Regions from separate parts of the Homo sapiens genome. Here region 2 is linked to region 1. The links are contacts of gene promoters, found by promoter capture Hi-C in blood cells and fetal thymus (Javierre and others, 2016). All regions are on one chromosome and are shown on one strand. Each heading gives the region's core, a stretch centred on a gene start or on the middle of the fragment in contact. The rest is flanking DNA. Distances are from core to core; before and after follow the strand shown. Region 1 holds the start of SMURF1 (SMAD specific E3 ubiquitin protein ligase 1). Region 2 holds the start of NAPEPLD (N-acyl phosphatidylethanolamine phospholipase D).

Region 1 (4,957 bases), core at 823-3,322:
GGAAAGAGAGTAGTACCAATGAGAGTGAGAAAGGGAAGACGAGGATGCAGCCTGGTCCAGAACCTCTGGAGCCCGGGGGGAAACAGGTTGGCATCACATCCGCGCCACCAAGTCGCAGGCCCGCGGCAGAGCGTTGCGCTCACCCTTGAAGGTGGCACTACAGAGCCACCCAGGAAACACGGACTTTTCATTGAAGACAAAATGAATCAAGGAGCCTGCGTGTGGGCAGCTTCCAAAGCCTCCAGTGAGTGTGGGAGTAGGGATCAGAGCCTCACGGCGCTCTGGGTTGCTGAGTGTGGGGGTGATGGTGAAACAAAATGCAGAAAAGGTAAAAATTGAAGAAGCAGAGTTAAAAGTAGCTAGCGGTCTGGCCTAAGAGACAGGAAGTGGCCCAGACTGAGACTGAAGAGGGCTGGACCAGGGGGAAGTGAAGAGAGCAGGACTGGGAGCAGCTACAAGATAGGATTGAGGAATTTCAGGCTGAAGGAAAGAAAGGGTGGAGGCCTCGCCAGACAGCAGCGAGGGGGCGGGGCTAGGCAGGAATGAGGGCGGGGCTTGAAAGTGAGGGGCGGGGCTAGGGGAAGAAGGGAGGAGGACGGTGTGGGGGGGTGAGGGAGAAACGAAAGAGGATGGGGGAGTGAGAAGAGGGTGGGTGGGGGCAGGAGGGGAGAAGCAAGGGGGCAAGTGGAAGGGGAGGTAGCAAAATAGCTTGGAAGTGGTGGGAAAGACCAGGAGGATGAGGGGAGGGAGCAGGTGGGAGGGAAAACAGGAAAGCAAGAGAGATGATGGGAAAGTGGTGAGAAGTGAGGGATGGGACCAGGGGAACAGAGGCAAGGCCAGGAGGGAAAAGCGAGGGGGCAGGTGGGCGGAGAGGATGGGAAGCGAGGAGAAGGAGGGAGGGGGTAAAAACGGCGGAGGAGAAAAAAAGGAGAGAAGCAAGGGGGCGGGACCAGGAAGAAGTGAGGGCCGATGCTAGGAAAGAAGTGAGGAGGCGGGACCAGGAAGAAGTGAGGGCCCAGGCTAGGAAAGAAGTGAGGAGGCGGGACCAGAGAGAAGCGAGGGAGCTGGACGCAGGGAGAAGCGAGGGGGCGGGGACAGAAAGTTAGGAGGCGGGAGCAGAGAGGAGCGAGGGGGTGGGGCCAGAGAGATGGGCGGGGTCAGGTTTGGGGAGGAAAGGTGGGGAAGAGAAAGGACCACAGGGATGGAGGTGAAAGGCAAGGGGGCGGGGCCTGGGGGGAGAAGCGAGGGGTCAGGTGCTAGGGAGAGGAAGGGAAGCGAGAGGCAAGGGGCCGAGCCGGGGAGAGGTGAGGGGAAAGGGCCTGGAAGGAGATGCAAGGGGCGGGGCCAGGAAAAGAGAAGCGAGGGGCGGGGCCAGGGAAGGAGATGCAAGGGGCGTGGCCATGAATGGAAATGAGAGGGGCGGGGCCAGGACGGAGATGCGAGGGGGCAGGTGCGGGGGAACGGGAGGGAACGCGAGACCGAGGGGGCGCGAGCGGCCAGGGGGCGGGGCCGGGCAACGGCGAGGGGGCGGGGCCAGGAGGGAGAAGCGAGGGGCGCACGCCGAAGGGGGTGACGAGGTCCTGGGACAACGGCCGGCGTGGGGGAGGGCCGCTTCCAAGGGCGCCCTGCGGGGAATTCCGGGGCGGGCGAGGGGGCGCCGGGGCGCGGGTGGGCCTCCCGCCGGCCGTACCTGTCAGACGGATCTTGATGCTGGAGCCGTTCCTGCGTGTCCCGGGGTTCGACATCTCCCGCCAACGATCGGGCAGCCGCGGATCCAGCGCCACCGCCCCCCAGCCCGGCCCGGCCCGGCCCCGCCGCCGCCGCCTCAAGGTTACGGCTCCGGGCTGGGCGCCGGGGTCCGAGCCGGGACACAAACTCCGCGGCCCAGGCGTCCGGGCGGCAGGCGGATGGTCGAGCCGGGAGATCGGCGCTTGCTGCGGCGCTCTGACCCTCGCTGCTTCCAGCCGAGCCCAGTCCCGAGCCGCCGCCGCCTCCGCCGCCGCCTCCGCCGCCTCCACCACCTCAGAGCCGGACGCCCGCCGCCCTCGCCGCTTCCGCCGCTGCCGCCGCCTCTCCGAGCCGCGCGCGCGCCCGCCGCCGTGCCGGCCCGGCCCTGCGCGCCCCCGCGCCTGCGTGCGTGCGCGCCCCCGCCACGTACGCTGGGGCGGGGCGGGGTGCGCTGCTACGTCGCCCGCACGCCTGCCTCGGGCGCGCGGGGCCCGGATCCCGCGGGTTGGGGTCTTCACCCTTCCTGTGGTCGGTGGGTGGGAGGGTCTGGCCCCGAGCCCGGGAAGGGAGAGCAGAGCTGGCCCCGGGACCCAGCGCGCGGTCGCCCTCTGTCTTGACCCCTGTCTCTGCGAGGCTCTGGGCTCCTGAGTGACTGAAGAGTGGTTTGCATGAAACCGTGGGCTGTGTCCACACCAAGCTCCTTGCACACAGGCGTGCAATACCAGTTTTTTTCAGTTAAGAGCTTTCGATCGTGCAAGTTCAAGGGAGGGACTTCTCAAAGAGACAAAGCCCTTAGGTGTGTTCTGTGCAACGGGTGTGCTCCACTGACCCATAACAAAGTTGCCAGAATCGCAGAAGTGCCATATACGGACAAGGAAAACGAGATGAGAGGGAGGGATAAAGTTGAGAGGCGGATGTTTGTTATTATCCATTCTGCATACAATTTTACCAAACAAGAAAGTGGCATTGTGGTTTGTGTTCCCATGTCTTCTGCTAAATTTCCCCTTCTCCCGGGGTTGCAGGTTAGAACCAAAAGCTCATGGCTGGGTACGGTGGCTGTAGCCTGTAATCCCAGCACTTTGGGAGGCCGAGGCGGGCGGATCACTTGAGCCCAGGACTTTGAGGCCAGCCTGGGCAACATAGGGAGACTCCATCTCTACAAAAAATACAAAAATTAGCTGGGCATGGTGGTGCGCGCCTGTAGTCCCAGGTACTGGGAGGCTGAGGTGGGAGGATCACTTGAGCCCCAGAGTTCATGGCTGCAGTGAGCTATGATCAGGCCACTGCACTACAGCCTGGGTGACAGAGCTAGACACTGTCTCAAAACACACACACACACACACACACACACACACAGAAAAAGCTCATTATGCGCTTTCTCCAGCAAACAAACTCCTCTCTGTTAGCATGTTATAGAAATAAACTGGTATTATTAGAAAGAGGGAAAACTAGGTTTATCAAACTTGTTTTTTACCCACTACCTTGTTGTTGTTGTTGTTGTTTTTTGAGACAGGGTCTCACTCTGTCACCCAGGCTGGAGTGCAGTGGCACGGTCTTGGCTCACTGCAACCTCCACCTCCCAGGTTCAAGTGATTCTCGTGTCTCAGCCTCCTGTATAGCTGGGATTACAGGCGTTAGCCACCACACCCAGCTAATTTTTGTATTTTTGGTAGAGATGGGGTTTCGCTGTTTTGGCCAGGCTGGTCTCAAACTTCTGAGCTCAGGTGATCTGCCCGCTTCAGCCTCCCAAAGTGCTGGGATTTCAGGCCTAAGCCACCGCTCCCAGACCCCACTACCCATTTTCATGTACAAGTTCTTTTTTATTTTTATTTGATTCTTCATCAATCAACTTGAACAAATTCTTTTAATACTGTGTGTGTGTGTGTGTGTGTGTGTGTCCCAAGGAAAGTAGGCTCTGGGCCATTGCTACCATCCCCTGCAGCCTTGTGCCTGTCCTAAGGTCACAGTCTTCGGAACAGAGCCTTCTACCTAGAGCGCCTAGACATACCTGCCTGCCTGCCCGCCTGCCTGCCTGCCTGCCTGCCTCGGATGACCCTAGTGAAAGCAGAGTCTCTCCTGGGCAGGATTCAAGGCATCACATCTGTCAAATAAAAGGATGGTCCTAGGTCATTTCTATGGCACCTTGCGGCTCTTTCAGTTATCCTCAAGAAAGACCCAAGAATATAAGCAATGTTTAAGCAATAGCAGTAGAGCCACAATCCAGCTGTTTCCATTTGTAGATGATTGTCACAGAGAGTGAATGCCTGGGTCTGAATTAATCCATCCAGTCTCTAATGCTCCCAAGTAATCCCCATTCTTCTGCCAATCCCGTTAGTATTTCCCCCCTATTCAAAGAGTCTCCTCTCTAAACAAAACCAGACATCACTCTCTGCTTACCTGGGTGCAGGCTCCTGTTCTTATCCCCAGGTGTTCCTGACCTGGAAACCTTTCATTGCTTAATTTTGTTGTTTTTCTCCCCGCCCCGACGGCTGGTTCTTCGTTGGCTTGACTGTTTCCTTAATCTTTGAGTCAGGAGGTTGCTTCTGGAGGTTTCTGAAAGGCATTTTGTTCATTCATTAACAAGTACAGATGCTCCTTGATGTACAATGGGGTTACATTCTGATAAACCCATAATATGTTGAAAATATGTCAAAAATGCATTTGCGGAGGCCGGGCATGGTGGTTCATGCCTGTAATCCCAGCACTTTAGGAGGCTGAGGTGGGGGGATTACCTGCGAGCAGGAGTTCGAGACCAGCCTGGCTAACATGGTGAAACCCTGTCAACTAAAAATACAAAAGTTAACTGGGTGTGGTGGTGTGCACCTGTAGTCCCAGCTACTCGGGAGGCTGAGGCACAAAAATCACTTAAACTCGGGAGGCAGAGGTTGCAGTGAGGCGAGATTGTGCCACTGCACTTCAGCCTGGGCAATAGAGCGAGACTGTGTCTTAAAAAAAAAAAAAAAAAAAAAAAAAAAAAAAAAAAAACAACGGAAAATGCATTTACTACACCTAAGCTACCAGCCATTATAGCTTAGCCCAGCCTACCTTAAATGTGCACAGAACACTTTCATTACCATACGGTGGGGCAAAATCATCTAACACAAAGCCTATTTTACGATAAAGTTATTATAAAGAATTTTGAATCAAAATTCGAAATTTGAAGTGTGGTTTCTACTGAATGTGTGTCGCTTTCCTACCATAACATCAAAAAATCGTAAGTCAAACCGTC
Region 2 (4,957 bases), core at 1,614-4,113, 4.0 Mb after region 1:
TCAGGAGGCTGAGGCATGAGTATCGCTTGAACACACGAGGCACAGGTTGCAGTCAGCCGAGATTGCCCCACCGCACGCTAGCTTGGGTGACAGAGCGAGACTCCGTCTCAAAAAAAAAAAAAAAGATGTGACCAGTTCAAGAGTGCTAGTGACAATGAGAAAGCTTGGTGTTTCTCTATTCATTCTTGTAATTGAGAGAGATTACAAAATCACGCAGAAGCCTACAGGCATTCAGTGTTAAATCAATATATTACTGTCCCTTAATCTGGGAAGGTGCCCAAATTAGATAAACACAAGAGTCTGCACCTTCAAGGGGAAAAATGGATTGTTCCAGGTAGCAGGCACAAACTGAGTTGTTTTTCAATCAAGATTTTGAATTATGCTGATCCATCTACATGCCAGACCTGTGCCTCCAGAGCCAACAGCACTGGCCATTCACAACCTGTTACCCACAGGCAGGGGTGCAATCTGTGAGTGTGTTGCTGACCAACGCTTGCTAATCCACACCCCTCCACTTTCGCTTCATTGGAACCCCGCTGTAACAAGAGTCTGCAGTGTATATATTCTGCTGAAGGCTGGGGCTGCTGAGCTAAGGTTCCTTGGCCAAATCACCAGACTCTCCCAGGCTCTTGGTGTCCTATTTTCCTCATCTGTGGAACAAGGCTCATATTTTATGTCTATAAAATCAAACTCTCTCTATATATATACATATATTTAAAATATTTGAAAGAGCTTTGTAAATGATAAAGTTATAATACATTATTTAACCAGCTGAGGTTGCAGAAGACTATCTCTAACATAAAACTGCCCCTGGGGATATATGAGTTCGTATGCAATCTGTCTCCAAAGTCTGTTAGTAAAATACTTAAATACACAATAAATGGTTAATAAATTCAAAAGACAAATCAAGCAAAGCACTATAAATTGTAGACAGAATTATTCAGTAGTATAGGCGTTAGAATGAAATATTACTTGAATCTTATGCTGGAAATCACATGGGTGATATTTTAATGCCAGTTTTATGCATGCCCTCACTGGCCTCCAGAATAAAAGTGCTCTTTAACGATTAATTATACATACAGTTCATTTCCCTAATAATACTTCAATGAAAACACTTTTTATGTGTATGCATTTCAACCTAAAAAGCCCAGATCAACAGTCCTCCAGCTATAGCTATATTCTTATTTACAAAGTGTAGAAAGCAATGGAAAAACTCACTATATCCACAGCTATCCATCACCACAAAGAAAAAGCAGAATGAAACAACAAAATTAAAGGCAAATACTGCTTTTCCAAACACAGACTAAATGTTCATAAAAATCCTCTCAGTTTACCAAACTCACAAATACTCAAAGTAACATAATACCCCTTTCGAACAAACACAAGAATGACTGTATCAACTAAAGTATAACCAAAACCCTGTGATGGAATGCTTATGCTAAAATGTTCTTCATATAGTTATAACTGGACTAATTTTAAAATTAGAATTTTGTAACATAGAATTTCTACAATATAATTTGGAATTCTGAGTGAAAATAAGGGTATGAGAAATACACTAAGTATTTTTATCTCTTGGAGACTTACCATAATTCTTGTAGCAGGAAAGCCTGCAGAATGTTAACAAAACAAAATCTCTGAAAATCCTGACTATATTTTCAGTTGACTTGAAACAAATTTAACCCCTCAATCTCTCCTTAAATTATTATTTTAAATAAGTACTTTTACCCTAAATTTCTTCTTTAACAGACCCAGTATTTTCTTGCAACAAAAATCACACTATTGTGGGATATAGGTAATCTTCTTTTTAAAGATTACATAACTTCTTTCTAAACGATGTCCATGTCTGCGGCTAATTCATAACCAATGTAACTGAAAATAGAAATGGAAATGTTAGAGATTTCCATTTTTTAACAAACATGGGAATTATTTCTCAATTTGAAGAACTGCATCTCAGGAATGACTTCCTGGACAAATTAATCAGAATTATCAAGTAGCAAACATTTCATGCTAAGCCAAAGCCAACCAGGTGAGTCAGTCATATTATAACATGTATATATAACAACGTACAGTAAAGGCAAAGACAAGAACTAAATGACTTTTTAAAAGGCTGTTAAACTTTACTCACTCCCTTAATATTTTCCAGGTTTAACTGACGTATAATGAATGCATGTGATCCCGGAACCCATGGAAGAGTATCTACCATATCGAGCTCTAGCTTGAAAAAAAAAAAAAAGGAAAAAACAAACAAACAAAACAACAACAACAAAAACCTATCTGAATACGTGTTCTGAAAAGCCCACAATAATACCCAATTTATAAGAAGCAAACAACCACAGAACAGAAAACTCAAGAAAGCACAGCCTTCCACCACCCCTCCCCAGCTAGCCCCATTTTTTTTTTTGCTCTTCATTTCCATTCCATAGTTAAATAAGTACACTTATTCCAAAATAAAAGGGGAGAAACCTGTTGGAATGGATTTTTAGAAGATAAACACTATAGATGAAGCAACAATAAGTTGCTCGGAGGAAGTTGTCGACCCATTCATTTACATACAACCAAAAGAAGATAAACCCACATGTATTCCTATCAGTGAAGATGCAACCTGGTAATTTGCAGGGAAGATAGGATCTCAAATCCCAGACAGCTACTCTCCCAAAGAGAAAAAAAATAATGCTGTGGCTCTTCACCGAGGCAGCTTCAGAGATGCAGGCTCCGCAACTCGCGAGGTGCGAAAATTCAAATGAAGCCCTGTCGCTCACAAGTGCGGCATCTCCGAGATGAGGGAGGGCTCGGGGACGGGAAACCCACTCTCAGCCCGCTCCACTTCGCCGAAGAATTCCAAACCACCCCAGGCTCAGCAGTGTGGATTGCTCCGCCCAGAGACCGTGGAGGAGGCAGCAGAGAGGTCACAGAGCACAGCAGGCGGGAGAAAACCGCCTCCCGCGAGGTCCAACAGAAACCACGGAGCTCCGGACACTCGGGATCCCGGGCCGCGGGCGCGCGGCCAGAGCGGCGGGGTGCGAGCGCGGGGGTGCGGACTCACCTCGCGCTTGGGGTGGCCGGGAGCGCGCGCCGCCTCAGTTCCGCGGCTTCCGGCCACAGAGTCCCCGCGCAAAGCGCCGCCGCGTAGCGGGAGGGGCGACCGCGGCAGGCGCTCGGGTTCTTCCTAACCCGAGCCCGCCGCGCTGGCTCCGCCGAGGACGCCAGCAGCTGCAGGCAGCGCTTCAGCTCTCGCCGCCTCGCCATCGTTGGGGCGAGTCGTCGCCGGGTCACTCCCTTATTATGACCTTCGAATCTGACAGCAGGGCCAGCGGTGGCCTCCTTCAGGCTGCCTCTCCAGCCCTTACCAAGATGGCCGCCCCTGTGGGCCGGGGCGCCGAAGCCATCTTGGTAAAGGAAGCGCCTGGGAGCACGCGGCCTGCCCCGGCCCGCCTCGCGACTCAAACACTCTGCAGGGACCCTCCTAAGATCAAATTGGTTCCCCCCGCTGTCCTAAGCCAGAGGCTTACTTTCAGATCGCATGAACGCATTCCTGGACACCAGCCACAGTTGCTAAAACTAAATGGGATCCTGCAGACCCATTGACGGACTGTCATAGCCAACTCAATCACAGTCGAGAAGCATTTGAATACTTACAGCCTATGGCGCTAGGATCCTGGTAGCGAAGAAACTAAACTCTAATTTGAAATGTTGTACAGTACGTATTGAATATTAATGGGAGCACGGCATTGTTCACTGTGTGATCGTTTACTTTTAAAATGATGTCACAGCCCCCTGGTACACACGGTTCTCATCTAAATTTGCATCTTTTTTAACGCTAGGATAACTATGAAAGAGCATACGATTGTGATTCTGAGTTTCTTACTGGATTTGCTTTTTAAACTGCAGAATGAAATTAGTTGTTTCAAGAAGTAAAGTACAGGCATGTCGAAGTAAAATTCAACAATGGGTTGTTGGGCAAAAAGATTATAAAAGTCCTGGGGTGTGCCAGGGTCAAAAAAAAAAAAAAAAGCTTGTCCCTGGGGTTATCTTGGCAAAAAAGAAACCACCACCACAGGTTCTAAATGCAGATAAGACTGGCAGAAAAATGCAGACCAAACTATTCTGCATTTTGAAAGTGAATGTGCCTGTGTGACATTGGAGGAATGTAAAGAACTGTATGTCAAGTGTGGACTTTATCTCCTCAGGCTAGCTTAGAGTGGCTGCTGAACTTAAGGGTGATTAAGAGCTGCTTGCACCTGGGTGGAGCTGAAACTGCATAAGGTGAATAATACCTTTGTGCAACAGAAGAAAAAAAAAAAAGTAACAGCATACATACAAACCCAAAGGGTAAGTTGAAGTTACTACTCAAAAGTTCTTCATAGTGTTCTTGACTAAGCAACGGAGAAGTAATCCCGGCACTTTGGGAGGGCAAGGCAGGAGAATCCTTAGAGCCCAGGAGTTGGAGACCAACTTGGGCAACATAGCGAGACTTCATCTCTACAAATAATAATTAAAAAAAAAAAAAAGTAGCCAGCCTTGATGGCCCGCCCTTGTGGTCCCAGCTACTCCAGAGGCTGAGGTGGGAGGATCGATTGAGCCTGGGAGATCAAGGCCGCAGTGAGCTGTGATCACGCCACTACACTCCAGCCTGGGCAACAGAGAAGACCCCATTTCCCCAAAAAAAAAAAAAAAGCTGGGCGCAGTGGCTCACGCCTGTAATTCCAGCACTTTGGGAGGCCAAGGCAGGAGGATCACCTGAGGTCAGGAGTTCGAGACCAGCCTGGCCAACATGGCGAAACCCTGTCTCAAGTAAAAATACAAAAACTAGCTAGGCATAGTGGAGCTCACCTGTAATCCCAGCTACTAGGGAGGCTGAGGCAGTAGAACTGCTTGAACCCCAGAGATGGAGGTTGCAGTGAGCAAAGATGGCACCACTGCACTCCAGCCTGGTAGACAGAGCAAGACTCTGTCTCAA

Evidence for each region. The method cuts DNA at HindIII sites, captures the fragments that hold promoters and counts their contacts. A CHiCAGO score of 5 or more calls a contact.
Region 2: the fragment with the promoter of NAPEPLD here is called in contact with the fragment with the promoter of SMURF1 in region 1 in 1 of 17 cell types (fetal thymus); the score reaches 5.5 in fetal thymus.

The regions. Positions count from the first base shown.
Region 1 is chr7:99,142,036-99,146,992 of GRCh38, forward strand. It overlaps SMURF1 (SMAD specific E3 ubiquitin protein ligase 1), which reads right to left and starts at 2,073. Exons shown (of 18, transcript NM_181349.3): 1 at 1,691-2,073. The coding sequence starts at 1,745. It also overlaps a transcript of KPNA7 not described here. RefSeq lists silencers at 1,255-1,304, 1,365-1,694, 1,835-2,334. The HindIII fragment of the contact is 8,132 bases long and covers 1-4,957 here.
Region 2 is chr7:103,146,236-103,151,192 of GRCh38, forward strand. NAPEPLD (N-acyl phosphatidylethanolamine phospholipase D) reads right to left here and starts at 2,864. Exons shown (of 5, transcript NM_001122838.3): 1 at 2,576-2,864. It overlaps LOC105375434, which reads left to right. Exons shown (of 3, transcript XM_047421168.1): 2 at 2,783-4,329. The coding sequence ends at 3,585. The HindIII fragment of the contact is 3,849 bases long and covers 162-4,010 here.